Regions from separate parts of the Homo sapiens genome. Here all the other regions are linked to region 3. Evidence: promoter capture Hi-C in human tissues and cell types (Jung and others, 2019). All regions are on one chromosome and are shown on one strand. The core of a region is centred on a gene start or on the middle of the fragment in contact, and the rest is flanking DNA. Distances in the headings are between cores, read along the strand shown. Region 1 overlaps BTRC (beta-transducin repeat containing E3 ubiquitin protein ligase). Region 2 has its middle 94 kb from the start of PAX2. Region 3 holds the start of TLX1 (T cell leukemia homeobox 1). Region 4 overlaps BTRC (beta-transducin repeat containing E3 ubiquitin protein ligase).

Region 1 (3,372 bases), core at 489-2,988, 330 kb after region 3:
CCATCCTGTTAACTTGTCAAACTTTCACTCACTTATTGTAGTTTTAAATTTTACTTAGGTTTTTGAGATGGTGTCTTGCTGTGATGCCCAGACTGCTCTCAAACTCCTGGACTCAGGCAGTCCCTCTGCCTCCACCTCCTGAGCAGCTGGGATTACACGCATATGCCAAAGTACTAGGCTCACTTGCTAATTTTAGCACCCAATGATGATTCTTCCTTATATTAATCACTTATCCTTAAATAGAATTTATTGGATATAATTTAGCCTGATGATCTAGGAAAATTATGCACATAGCTTATTGGGAATCCTCATAGATAAAGATGCAAGGAATAACTGTGTTGCTGAGCTTTCCTGGGTGATGTTGGACAGGCTTTGAGAACTGTTGAGGTGACTACTTAGGTATACATGGCTATTTCATCATTACCCCTTACCCTCAAGACTGTAGACCTAGTAATCTCATTCACTGGCATTCTGCTTCTACTCTTTAGTATTAGGAGGGTTCCTAATCCTTGTTCCTGATATCATGACTGTTTAATGTCCCTACCTCTATTTTTTTGTAACAACATTATAAGTTGGATTTTTTGTTTGATTTGATTTCTCATGATGGATGGCCCAGAGTAAAAGTGTTGGGTTAATCTGTATTAAAAGAACATACCAATGTTTATGGGTTTCCCCCATTTTTTGTTTAAGAGTTATTTTTAACAATACCATTTAAATATTCTTTGCCCTAGTGGGATAGAAAGGGGAAAGGAACTCCTAAGAAGCTCTGTGTTCTATGTTAGGTTAGTAACACCCTTTAAGCTCCCTTTGTGTTTTCATTCTTTAGACATTTTCATAATACCCACCCAGTGGTTATCCATCTAAATCTGATAAAATAGAGGGTCAGTAAAAAGAAAATTGTGAGTATGGGCTAGTCAATACTCAGGCTGTTAAGGTTGAGATGACTATTTTTCACTTTATAATTCAGTATAGAGGAGTTTGCCAGCAATTGTGTATCAGCCCAAGTACCTGTATAATAAAAATGTGATTTATAGTATCTTTGGTATGACAAACTTCCAGCAAAAAGTAATTAGGCTCCAAGTTATATGATAACATTTCAAAAAACATAATTAATTTTGAAATACAGGATCTTACACTGAATTAAACAGGTTTAGTTTATCTGATCTTTTTATTTATTTATTTAAAGGAGGAATTTCATGACCTGAAAGAGAGTTACTTGCAAATTCTAAGTTTATAATTGGATACTGGCTTAAGCTTCTATTATATAAGGCATTTAATTTTGGTATTTAAAACATTGATCTTTACATTTAAAAAAAAAAAGTTAAACATACAACTTGATGTTATGGGGTAAATAAATGTTGACCTTTCCCTTTCTTTGTTTGATACTCTTACATAGCATGTATTGCCAGTCGCCTCATTTGTCAAGCTTTGTAGTCATTAATTCAATTATATCCTTCCTCCATTTTTTGGTAGATGATCTCCATTCCTTTTTTTCCAAACAGGGAGGAAAAGAAGTTAGAACTCTGAAGTTCTTGAGTCTCTGTCCCTTTCTTTGTAATATAGCATGCTTTTTCTTTAATTTTAGGGACTTTTACAAGGGATCATCACAAATGTAAAATATCAAGTTAAACCTCATAAGATATTTCTGCCCAAAAGAAACACATTAGGGTACTGGCCTGTCAGGCTTACTAAAGGTGACACACAGGTGTCAGCCACAGAGGTGAAAGGGCCTCAGAATGACACAGTACGTTTTTTATCTCTCAGTATCTTTCAAAATGTAATATCTAATAGAAACCAAAAAAGTGAAATTTACATGTAGGTTTAGAACACAGTAATGATTGTATATTAATAATTTCATGCTTGTATGAAAATTTTCAGATAAACTCTCATGTTAAAAATAATTTCTGAACCTACAAATAAACTAACCCTCCTGTTAGAACGTTATGACTATATGTAATGTAAGGAATATATTAACTGTAAGTTTTTTGTTGTTGTTGTTTTGAGACGGAACCTTGCTCTGTCACTCAGGCTGGAGTGCAGTGGTGTGATCTCGGCTCACTGCAACCTCGGCCTCCTGGGTTCAGGCGATTCTCCTGCCTCAGACTCTCGAGTAGCTGGGATTACAGGCACCCACCACCACACTTGGCTAATTTTGTATTTTTAGTAGAGACACAGTTTCAGCATGTTGGCCAGGCTGGTCTCAAACTCCTGACCTCAGATGATCTGCCCGCCTTGGCCTCCCAAAGTGCTGGGATTACAAGTGTGAGCCACCGCACCTAGCACAACTGCAGGGTTTTAAATATTAATGTTATTAATGTTACTAATGTTGTTGCTGAAAATGGAACTCAAATAATATGTAATTTGGATTTTCTGTATTTTGCCTTGTAGATAGTGATTTACATATATTGACTAGCAGATTTTTAGTACTTATGAACTCATTTTCAGTTGGATTGTTGTTTTTTTCCCCCTCCTAAGTATATAAAAACCCCACTGACATTTTAGGGCCTCTAGCTGCTGTTTGAGGTGACAGTGCCAAGGAATGGACTCTAATCCTAAACTACTGAGTAAATGTTTTTTTAAGTCCTATGCTACTTTTATCAAAGAAAATAAAATCAAATCTGAGAAGAGGGGGAAGAGAAATAACTATTTTTAGGACCCAGACTTGGAGATCTGTGCCAACCAAACATCTACTATAATCGAGAGAAGGTAATAATCATGGTTTTAGTTGTCATCAGCTAAGTGTGGGCTGGAACTTTCTTGTATCCAGTGTCAACCTGTGTCAAAGTGCAAGCTAGAGATCTAATGAATATGATCTCCTACACAATGCTTAAAGATACATGAAATACTTCCCATCTAAATCCTTACATAATTTATTTATATACATGGGCATATGTTTTCTTTTACATATGTGTATATCTGTATGTATACAAATCTTCAAGTGAATAATTGTATAAATATATGTATGTTCTAACTTACAGAATTAGAAATGTAATTCAGTTTACTCCCAAAGGATAAGATTGAAGATAATGAGAACTGAATTAAAGCTTACTTTCTTTCACAGAATTCCTCAGAGAGAGAAGACTGTAATAATGGCGAACCCCCTAGGAAGATAATACCAGAGAAGAATTCACTTAGACAGGTATGAAATTCAGCCTTACTTAAAATAAAAAGCTACCAACAGCAAAACAAAAGACAGGAGGAAACCCTTGATTTGCCATTCTTTAAGCACTGGAGCTTATATTAAGAGTACTCGGACGTTGGCCTGGCCATAGCCATCACTTTCAATCAGGTGACATGGTTTTCCCAGTTATTTAAAAAACATTCTAGGTATACATGTACAGGACAGCTGGTTGGCATTTTTAAAAAAGTATA
Region 2 (3,519 bases), core at 257-2,756, 480 kb before region 3:
GAGGCAGGAGGCTGGGCCATCATCAAGATGGGGTGGGATGGGGGCTGGGGGGGGTTAGGGACAGAGTGGGTTCTAATTGGCCCGCGGTGAATTATTCACATGTATAATCCTCGAAGAATTTCAGCGCGGGCAGTGCCAGTAAATGCTGTGCATGTTTAAAAGTCATTTCCATAAGTAAGTGCAATTTCTCTACTGTTTGCCCCTGTTTAATGAAGTGAAATCTTGTTTGCATTCCTCCCAATTTCCCAACGAAAGGCGCCCAACCGTTCGCACAAAAATTACGCCGCCCAAATTAAAACTCGGGCTCTAAGGGAGGTGAGGGGACCGTGGCACTGGGCCCTTCACGGAGGGCCTACTGAGGGGTGGGGGGCAGGCAGGAGCTGGGCCTGGGTTTTTCAGCTCATTACTTTTCTGTCGTTCTTGCAATTTCAAATGCTCCCCCCACCATATTCCCCACCCCCACTTGCCCCATTATGTTCCTCTCTTTTTAAAAAGAACCCCTGGGGTACATGAACAGGGCATGAGGTATATGTTCATGTATGTGTAAATGAATCCCTATATACATTTATATTCATGTTCCTGCGTGTACTTGTGAAGTTGTGTACTCGTGATATTGTGATATATAATCGTACTCTGTGATCATTCAAGCAATGATTCATACAGACACATTGTAATGGCAAACACAAATGGCTATTGTGGATTTGCTTAGGAGGCCCTGCCTATGCATACATGTGGAATTGTCTACATGTCTGGCTGTATGTGTTGGGCGTGTTGTACATGTCTAAGGTGGATAGTCACATAGACGATATGGGTAAAGACAGAGAGGAGAAGGGGAGATTGCGGGTGTTTGTGTACCTTCTCAGGTTGCCTGGCGTAGAGTACTTAGCTCTATTGCAAAGACCCATTCCTTCCTGAGGGGCGCATGGCACCCCTCTTAATATACCTACAGCTGATGGCACTGGCACTGCAGGGTTGGAGGAATCATTTCCTTCTACTCCTTCCCTGAGTGTGCCCTCTGACCCTGTGAGGACCAGCCAGGTGGCTGACCAGCCAGCTGACACTCCAACGCCCTGTATGAGTTTGAACAAACGTACTCCCAAATGGGCAGGCAGGAGACCCCTTCAAGGCTCCACACCCTCAAAGTTGCACCCTCTCCTAGTGCCAAATGGCCACGATGTGAGGGTCGCTTTGGCAAGGAGCCCAGAACATAACTGCAGACTGCTCTTATTTGGATTAATTGGAAAAGTAATGAGCATTCGGTGCTCACCACCTTCACCACTCCTACTACCTTGACCAATCCCACCACACTGACCACGCCCATAACCTTCACCACTCCCACCACCTCGACCAATCCCGCAACCTCCACCACTCCCACCACCTCCACTATTCCCACCACCTTCACCACTCCCACCACCTCCACCACTCCCACCACCTCCACCACTCCCACCACCTTCCCCACTCCCACCACCTCCACCAGTCCCACCACCTCCACCATTCCCACCACCTCCACCATTCCCACCACCTCCACCACTCCCACCACCTCCACCACTCCCACCACCTTCACCACTCCCACCACCTTCCCCACTCCCACCACCTCCACCAGTCCCACCACCTCCACCATTCCCACCACCTCGACCAATCCCGCAACCTGCACCACTCCCACCACCTCCACTAGTCCCACCACCTCCACCACCCCCACCACCACCCCCACTCCCACCATCTTCCCCACTCCCGCCACCTCCACTATTCCCACCACCTTCCCCACTCCCACCACCTCCACTATTCCCACCACCTTCCCCACTCCCACCACCTCCACTATTCCCACCACCTCCACCACTCCCACCACCTCCACTATTCCCACCACCTTCCCCACTCCCACCACCTCCACCACTCCCACCACCTCCACCACTCCCACCACCTTCCCCACTCCCACCACCTCCACCATTCCCACCACCTCCACCACTCCCACCACCTTGACCAATCCCGCAACCTCCACCACTCCCACCACCTCCGCTAGTCCCACCACCTCCACCACCCCCACCACCACCTCCACGATTCCCACCACCTTCCCCACTCCCACCACCCCCACCACCTCCACGATTCCCACCACCTTCCCCACTCCCACCACCCCCACCACCTCCACGATTCCCACCACCTTCCCCACTCCCACCACCCCCACCACCTCCACGATTCCCACCACCTTCCCCACTCCCACCACCCCCACCACCTCCACGATTCCCACCACCTTCCCCACTCCCACCACCCCCACCACCTCCACGATTCCCACCACCTTCCCCACTCCCACCACCCCCACCACCTCCACGATTCCCACCACCTTCCCCACTCCCACCACCCCCACCACCTCCACTATTCCCACCACCTTCCCCACTCCAACCACCCCCGCCACCTCCACCACCTCTGCCACTCCCGCCACCTCCACCAATCCCGCCACCTCTGCCACTCCCACCACCTTCACCAGTCTCACCACCTTCTACTCCCCACCTTCTTCCAGTTGACCACTCAGCTGGAAAGGACAGAACCAATAAGTCACATCGCTACAATAATGCCCTCACCCACATATCCACAGGTCTGAAGCCCACTACCCTCTTAACACGTCACTGCAGGAAACATGGGGTGGCTAGCAGAGGTTCCAGTTGTTTGCTGAAGGTCTGGAGGAGAGAATCATTCAGAGCTGAAATCCTGAGGTAAAGGAACCCAGGAGTCGAAGTGATGAAGAGTGGGAGGCCTCCTTGGAGAGGGCTTCTTCTGTCACACCTCTTTGATGTCCTCCAGGAGGTGGGACATCCAGGCACACCGGCAAAGTGTCATCCTTGTCGTGACCCCCCACTTATCCTTTTTCCTCCTGCATTCTTCTATCAGTGTAATCAGCCCAAACCACAACTGTAACTTCTTCTCCCATAGTTCAGAAACCATCTATGGTTCCCCACTCCTCAAACAATAAAGCCTGTATTCCTTCTGCTATCAGACAGAACAAGCCCTTCACAATAGGAAGTTCCCTTCCCCCTCAACCTGCTTTTCTGTCCTTGGTTCTCAATGATGCCTCCCCCAGCCCCTCCATATCCCTCCTGAGCCCCACCCAAGCAAATAGGAACATGAGCTGGTTCTCTCCCTCTTTTGTCCATGCTCTTTCTTCTACCTCAGATGCCACCATTAGCCTTACCCCATCCCATTTTCTGCGGGTTGGGGTCTTAAAGCCCATCAAGCCAGATTTAATGCCATTTTCTCTAAGGCTTTCATGCTGGACCTCACCATGACTACCGGCAGCACAGTGACTCCTGGAGCATGATTTCTCTGCCTCTGCAACAGGAATTTCTTGTCCCTTCTCTTTACCTGCTGCAGACCAGACCTGCTGGGCTCCATTCTCTTTGGGCACCAGGCTTTGAGTACCCCTGAGTGAGGGGAAGGAGCAGTTCGCAAAGGCTTTGTGGACCAGCTAGTGGCGGACTGCAGAGCATGTGGAGAGTTAGGGTGGATTTGGACACATGTGCCCGGGGGGCG
Region 3 (3,548 bases), core at 459-2,958:
CCAATCATAGCTATTCTGAAATGTACTTTCCTCACATCTGTAAAATAGGGAGAATACTCATCTCGAAGGATTGGTGTAGAGTTTATATTGTTCTCCATAATACTAACATCTGTCTTGTTGTATTTGCTTCTTTGCTTATTGTCTGACCCCCTCTATAGAATGTAAGCTTCATGAGGTCAGGACCTTTGTTTTGTTCACTGCTATGTCCCCCATGCCTAGAACAGTGCCTGACACATAGTGAGTACAGTACTCAATAAATATTATTGAATAAAGAGATACATTCTTTGTTATTCACCCAAGATGACCATATTTTGTTGTTTGGGGCTGTATTCTTCAGGAGAGAACAGAAATGAATAAGCCACTCTCTGCCTCCAAGAAGATCTCTTCAAGTGGAGGTGACAGACATGCCCAAAGCAAATAGATTGCAATAAGACTTGATGGGAGAGAATGTGAGTCTTCACATCCTAGCATCTTTCCAGATAGAGACAGGGCCTACCCAAAAGTCTAATCTGAAACTGAACTGAAATAGAACAGAAATAGATCCCAAGTGATGGAACCTGTGCCTTTCCCAAAGCTTGGCTTCTAAAAGGTAGCAAACATTTTCTACTGGAGAGGGGAAAGACAGGAAGAAGAAAAAGGGAGTTTCCTCCTTTTCTCTTGGGCTCTCAGCCAGACAGCCACTGGCAAAACGTTGGAAAGGCCTAAATTTGTCCTGGATGCACTTCCCTGATCCTAGTCCCACCAATCCCAGCCCCCACGGCCTTAAGCCCCTATGGCTCCCTCCCAAGATTCCAAACGTAAGAAAAGAACACACACCACAGTCCAAAGGCTTCTTGTCTGGAATAGCCAACCCTGGGGTAATTGTTAGGTGGAATGCAATCTGGTTGAATTCATTCAAACACTGTAGGAATTGCCTCTTTCGAACCCTGTAGGATTTTACTTCTTGACGCATCTGTTTATTTAAAACCAAAGGGGTATGTTGAGGCATGGGCACCCTGGCAGCAGACCCCAAACCAACCCTCTTGACTTGTGCCTGCCTTTCAGGATATGTTCCCTTCCTGAATTTGTCTAAGAAGGCTGAGTTGGGGGGTGGTTGCTGATTTTTATAACATATAGCCAGTTGTTCATAGGCCTGTGTTTTAAAGAAGGGCAAGCCTGAACTCACCGTCCTGCCTCAGGGCCTGGGCTCCATACCTGGGGAGTAGACAGTCTTCTACTTTCTAAAAAGCTGGACTTGAAATTTGGAGTAAATCTCCTGGTTGAGTGACAGGTGTTTCGCAGCTGAGCCCTTGAGGAGATTCTCCAGTTGGGCAGAGACATCCCTTCCTCAGACGCCTTGTGGGCTGGACTCCTTTGGCCCAGTTCAAAGTGAGGGGAGGGCTCCCAACAGGCCGGGAAGACAGTTGACTTCACCCTCCTTGGGTTTGTCTGTCTGTCCGTCTCTGGGAATGGTCGCTTCCTGTTTTCCCTTTTCCTTTTAAGCCTCGCCTTGTTCCCCTCTTCTCTCTCTTCATGAACTACTCCGAGTCTTGGTCTCCGTCCCTCTATCTCTGGCTCCTGCATCTGTCTCGGCTTCTGGCCTTCCTCTCCCCCTCCCCTCCCCTCCCTCGCGCTGTCATTCACCCCGCTCCTCTCCGCGCACAGCCAATGGAGAGACCCAGTCGAAACCGCGAAGCTCTCTTGCACCGGGCTTTTTCGCCTGGTGATTGATGTCCCAGAGTCAACAGCGAGCGAGCAGCCGGAGCGGGGAAGCAGAAGCCAGAGAGGGGAAGAATACGGCGCCCCCTCTCTCCCTCCCCTCCCCCTTCTACTTTAGCCTTTCTGCGCACTTCGCTTCCAAGTCTCCGCGCAGCCAGGAGCCGCTGTTGCCTCCCAGCCCCTGCTAGCTGCCCCCCGAGCCGAGCGCAGCGAGCGCCGCCGCCCGGGCCCCCCGGTGGGGCCAGGGCCAGCATGGAGCACCTGGGTCCGCACCACCTCCACCCGGGTCACGCAGAGCCCATTAGCTTCGGCATCGACCAGATCCTCAACAGCCCGGACCAGGGTGGCTGCATGGGACCCGCCTCGCGCCTCCAGGACGGAGAATACGGCCTTGGCTGCTTGGTCGGAGGCGCCTACACTTACGGCGGCGGGGGCTCCGCGGCCGCGACGGGGGCTGGAGGAGCGGGGGCCTATGGTACTGGAGGTCCCGGCGGCCCCGGAGGCCCGGCAGGCGGCGGCGGCGCCTGCAGCATGGGTCCTCTGACCGGCTCCTACAACGTGAACATGGCCTTGGCAGGCGGCCCCGGTCCTGGCGGCGGCGGCGGCAGCAGCGGCGGTGCCGGGGCACTCAGCGCTGCGGGGGTAATCCGGGTGCCGGCACACAGGCCGCTCGCCGGAGCCGTGGCCCACCCCCAGCCCCTGGCCACCGGCTTGCCCACCGTGCCCTCTGTGCCTGCCATGCCGGGCGTCAACAACCTCACTGGCCTCACCTTCCCCTGGATGGAGAGTAACCGCAGATACACAAAGGACAGGTTCACAGGTGAGTCCGGCCCGCGCGCTCCCCGCCTGGCCGCGGCCCGGGCTCCGTGCTACCCCTGCCCCGCCGGGTGGCTCCCCAAAGCCGGTTCTGCGCTCCAGGTCGCCCAGCTCTTCTTGGTGCTTCCCCCAAGTTGAGCCGCCCGCCCGATTCTATAACGCAGACTCGCCATGCTTGAAGAGTTCTCTCAGCCTGGACCCCTCTCTGTCTCCCGAAGGACCCCTGCTCGGAGGAGCTCTCCCTGGTCCCCTCTCCGGATCCACTAGCCGGGTCAGGCAGAGAGAAGGAGGCCATAGATTCAGGACCACCTTCTGCAGCTACTCTTGGCCTGGGAATCTTAGAGAAAGGGGTGCAACGTGAACAGTTTCTTCCGTCCTGGCTGCTGTTCTAGGACCCAGGAAGCGAGCCCCAGGATCAGACACAAGAAAAGAACAGGTTCCCCCACCTCCAGTCCCCTACACACATGCACTTCGCGCCCCTAGCTCCGGTGCCCGTGGTGCTGCGGGGCCAGTGGGGGCTCTGAGCCCCGGTAAATCAGCAGAACCAGTGGCCTTTTTTTTTTTTTCCGGAGAGCAGGCTTCATCTGGGAGGATGGCAGCGGGGCTTAGCCGCCCAGGACAGCTAGCTTTTCATTTTCGTTCTCTCCCGGCTGGGTGTCCTACCCCGGGCCCAGCCCTGTTATCTTGGGCACGAACAATGCACCGGTAGGCTGGTGATCGGTGGCGGGAAGACTACTCCCGGGACATTGGGTACTAAGTGGTGGCCGCTGCCGCCTTCTCTGCTGCCCGCTCCCGCCTTCCTCTGCTGGCCCTGGCTCCCTCTGCTCCCGTTTCCACTCTGGGCACTCAACTCTCCCTCTGGCGTGGATCCCTTCCCCCGTTCTCACTTTCTGCTCCCCTTAGGGTTCCCTGGATCCTAGACCACGATCCTTCCGTCCGGGCTGGGAAGCAGCCACAAATTGAGCCCAGGTTAGCCAGCCGATCTTAGAGAGAGGAGGCAGGAGGCACTGGCTGCTGCTGGCAGAGATGGGGCC
Region 4 (3,360 bases), core at 150-2,649, 370 kb after region 3:
TGGGTCCCTTTTGCATTTGGTTATATTCATTCTCCCCCTTCCCACCTATTTCTCACTTCATCTCTCCTGTAGCCATCTCCCTCCATCTCTTCCCCAGCTCATCATCTCTCCCCATCCCTATCTTTCCCCTAGACCTGCTTATCCCTCTTCCTTCATCCTTATCCCATCTCTCACCAACCCCACTGCCTAGTATCCACTGTCCTTTCCCCAATCCTCGGTCACTTTTGTCATTCCTCTTCCTCTTCTACCCTCTTCTCTAGCCCTAGCCCTTCCTCTCCTTGCGTTCCTCCTTCTGCTTTCCCATTTTCCCCCTTCCATTTCCCTTTTCTTTCTCTCCTCACTTTCTCTCCCTTTGACTCTCTTTCTTTTCTCCTCTTTCCTCCCCTCCTTTCAGCTCCCCTCATCACAATAACCTATAATTCTCTGTCCTCCAGGATCAGATCTTGACTTCTCTAACAGCAAAGATTAATTTTGCTTGCTCTGATCAATTTGATATTATGAACAAAGAATTCTCTAGATGGCACAGATACACTCCCCCTCCCCCATATTCTTCAAATATTTGACTAATAAATTTTAAAAAAATTTTGTTTTCTTTTTGAGATGAAGTCTTACTCTGTCACCCAGGCTGGAGTGCAGTGGTACAATCTCAGCTCACTGCAACTTCTGCCTCCCGTGTTCAAGCAATCCTCCTGCCTCAGCCTCCCAAGTAGCTGGGATTACAGGCGTGCACCACTGCACCTGAGTATATATTTATATATATATATGTGTATATATATGTATATATATATGTATATGTATATATATATATATATATATTTTTTAGTAGACACGAGGTTTCACCATGTTGGCCAGGCTGGTCTAAGACTCTTGACCTTAAGTGATCCGCCTGCCTCAGCCTCCCAAAGTGCTGGGATTACAGGCATGAGCCACCATGCCTGGCCGTTGACTAATACATTTTTAAATAAACAGAAAGATGGCCGGGCGCGGTGGCTTACGCCTGTAATCCCAGCACTCTGGGAGGCCGAGGCGGGCGGATCATGAGGTCAGGAGATCAAGACCATCCTGGTTAACACGGTGAAACCCCGTCTCTACTAAAAATTCAAAAAAATTAGCCGGGCGTGGTGGCAGGCGCCTGTAGTCCCAGCTGCTCAGGAAGCTGAGGCAGGAGAATGGCGTGAACCTAGGAGGTGGAGCTTGCAGTGAGCAGAGATTGTGCCACTGCACTCCAACCTGGGCGACAGAGCGAGACTCCGTCTCAAAAAAATAAAAAAAAAAAAATAATAATAAAAAAACAAATATACCCACCAAAATGTGAACATTATGTCTTTGTTGATAGTTGAAATTATGGGCAATTTCCATGTTTTTTGTGTATCTGAATTTTTCATATTTACTAAAATGTGTCTACTGTAAATGCTATTTTTAGAAAATGAATTAAACATTCTTTGCTTGACCCCCCCCATAGATCTTTATTTAATCAAAGTGAAAACAAAATGACTCAGATTTGATCCTTTTTGAAGATGAATTTGGTTTGCTATTTTGATGTTCAGTTTTCCAATTTTTTTTTTTTTTTGAGACGGAGTCTCGCTGTGTCGCCCAGGCTGGAGTGCAGTGGCACAATCTCAGCTCACTGCAACCTCCGCCTCCAGGATTCAAGCAATTCTCCTGCCTCAGCCTCCCATTAGCTGGGACTACCGGTGCCGGCCACCATGCACTGCTAATTTTTCTATTTTTAGTAGAGACGGGGTTTCACCATGTTGGTCAGGCTGATCTCGAACTCCCAACCTCAGGTGATCCGCCGCCTCAGCCTCCCAAAGTGCTGGGGTTACAGGCGTGAGCCACCTGTAGTTTTCGCGCCTGGCTAGTTTTCCAAATTTTTTTACCTTTCAAAATGGGTGGCCCTTTGAACTGAAGCATGAAGCCATCAGCTCATTGGCACTATTGTAGCACATGGTGAATGTTAAATACAGTTGCTCAAGTTAGGCTTCAACTCTAAGTCCTATAAGACCTTTCCTGCCTTTCTCTGTCCTCCCAAAATTTAGCTCATGTTTTTTTGTAATATTTCAATATTAGAGTGTTCAGTCTGATAGACTTGGCAATTTTTATACAGATTTGTTTTCAGCCCTGTTATCAGTCTTGGGGGTGGGGAGGACAGGCATTGATGAGCAGCAGTTCTATTATATACCTTGTTTATTGTCCTTGGTAGTGTTGGTTATAAAAAGTGTAACAGTCATGCTGTACCAAGCCAAGATGCCAACTCTGCCATAGTTAAATGTTAAAATTCCAAGCTCAGATTCAAAATTGACTGAAAGGAAATCTTTCAGCAGACTATTTCAATCTCAGTTGACTAACCCTAGGTATGCAAGGTGGATGGCAAGGCTAGATGAAGTGCTCTAAACAACTGAAGTTTACTTATTTCCTAGCTATAGTGTACTCATTGTTTCACAAAGGGTTAAATTATGTAGTTAGTGAATGCTTTTCTAGCTGCAGGGGTTTTTGAAAAGAGATCTAGGAATTCTGCAGTTAATTGAATTCTTCAGGCATGGACTCAGGGTCTCTGAAAAAATTTGAGTGAGCAAAATTCTCTTGCTTTGCTCCTAGATATAGTTCATACCATGTCTTAGGAATCCAGAATTATTTTTTGAAGGATTTTATGCCTATATATGCTGACTGAACATTTAATAAGATAACCACGACATTTTAAAAGATTTTATACAATGTACTTGTTTCCTTGCATTGCCCTTCTCCCTGTTTTTTCTTCTCTTACTTCCCCAAGTCTGTATCACTGGGGCTTTTTTCCCATTTTTTCCCATCTTGTGAGCAAAGTTTTAACAGTACGTAGAAAGTTAACTGCCTGGAGTCTTTTAAATATAAGTAACACGCAACCAGTAATAAGCTGTCGGTTGATTTTTTGCTGCCTGCAAAGAAACATAAACACAGCGCTCATTTCTGGCAGGTTTTTACTGTCAGAGTTTCTCCTATTATATTTATCTTACAATTTGCCAGGGGGTGAAGTTATTAAGTTTTAGCAGCAGCCATCGATCAAGTTCACAAGTTAACACGATAAAGGCTCTGTGCCGCTCCGATCCGGGGAAATGATGATCCTCACTCGGTAATTAACTAAATGAGAAAGTTAAATCTTACTTGAGAGCTGGGAGAGATGAAAGAGAGGTGTTTGTCAGCTTCTCAGTGGAAATTAGAAGCAGTTTTCTGCAATTCCCTAAGCTGCTGCTCTGTCATATTTTACATAAGCACTGGGAAAATGTCTTGTAATTAGTGCTGTCATGGAAGATTTTTTTTTGCTGAAGGATGTTGGAATAATTCATTAGATTATCAAGAAAGGCTGTGTCCTGAAATGATTAG

What was found. Contacts are between HindIII fragments. The study calls those that stand out against the background at their distance.
Region 1: a contact is called between a fragment that was not itself captured here and the fragment with the promoter of TLX1 in region 3, in 2 of the 25 tissues and cell types used here (hippocampus and mesenchymal stem cells).
Region 2: a contact is called between a fragment that was not itself captured here and the fragment with the promoter of TLX1 in region 3, in 1 of the 25 tissues and cell types used here (H1 embryonic stem cells).
Region 4: a fragment that was not itself captured here is called in contact with the fragment with the promoter of TLX1 in region 3 in 3 of the 25 tissues and cell types used here (adrenal gland, lymphoblastoid cells and mesenchymal stem cells).

Annotation. Positions count from the first base shown.
Region 1 is chr10:101,458,920-101,462,291 of GRCh38, forward strand. BTRC (beta-transducin repeat containing E3 ubiquitin protein ligase) reads left to right here. Exons shown (of 15, transcript NM_033637.4): 3 at 3,062-3,139. Among named protein-coding and RNA genes, the nearest start is that of BTRC, 110 kb to the left of the region's middle. The HindIII fragment of the contact is 4,592 bases long and covers 1-3,372 here.
Region 2 is chr10:100,649,618-100,653,136 of GRCh38, forward strand. No RefSeq gene overlaps it. Among named protein-coding and RNA genes, the nearest start is that of PAX2, 94 kb to the right of the region's middle. The HindIII fragment of the contact is 8,696 bases long and covers 1-3,519 here.
Region 3 is chr10:101,129,592-101,133,139 of GRCh38, forward strand. TLX1 (T cell leukemia homeobox 1) reads left to right here and starts at 1,709. Exons shown (of 3, transcript NM_005521.4): 1 at 1,709-2,518. The coding sequence starts at 1,951. TLX1NB (TLX1 neighbor) reads right to left here and starts at 1,555. Exons shown (of 3, transcript NR_130723.1): 1 at 1,195-1,555. The HindIII fragment of the contact is 11,337 bases long and covers 1-3,548 here.
Region 4 is chr10:101,504,363-101,507,722 of GRCh38, forward strand. All of the region lies in intron 4 of BTRC (beta-transducin repeat containing E3 ubiquitin protein ligase), which reads left to right. Among named protein-coding and RNA genes, the nearest start is that of POLL, 82 kb to the right of the region's middle. RefSeq lists an enhancer at 2,530-3,360. The HindIII fragment of the contact is 4,822 bases long and covers 1-3,360 here.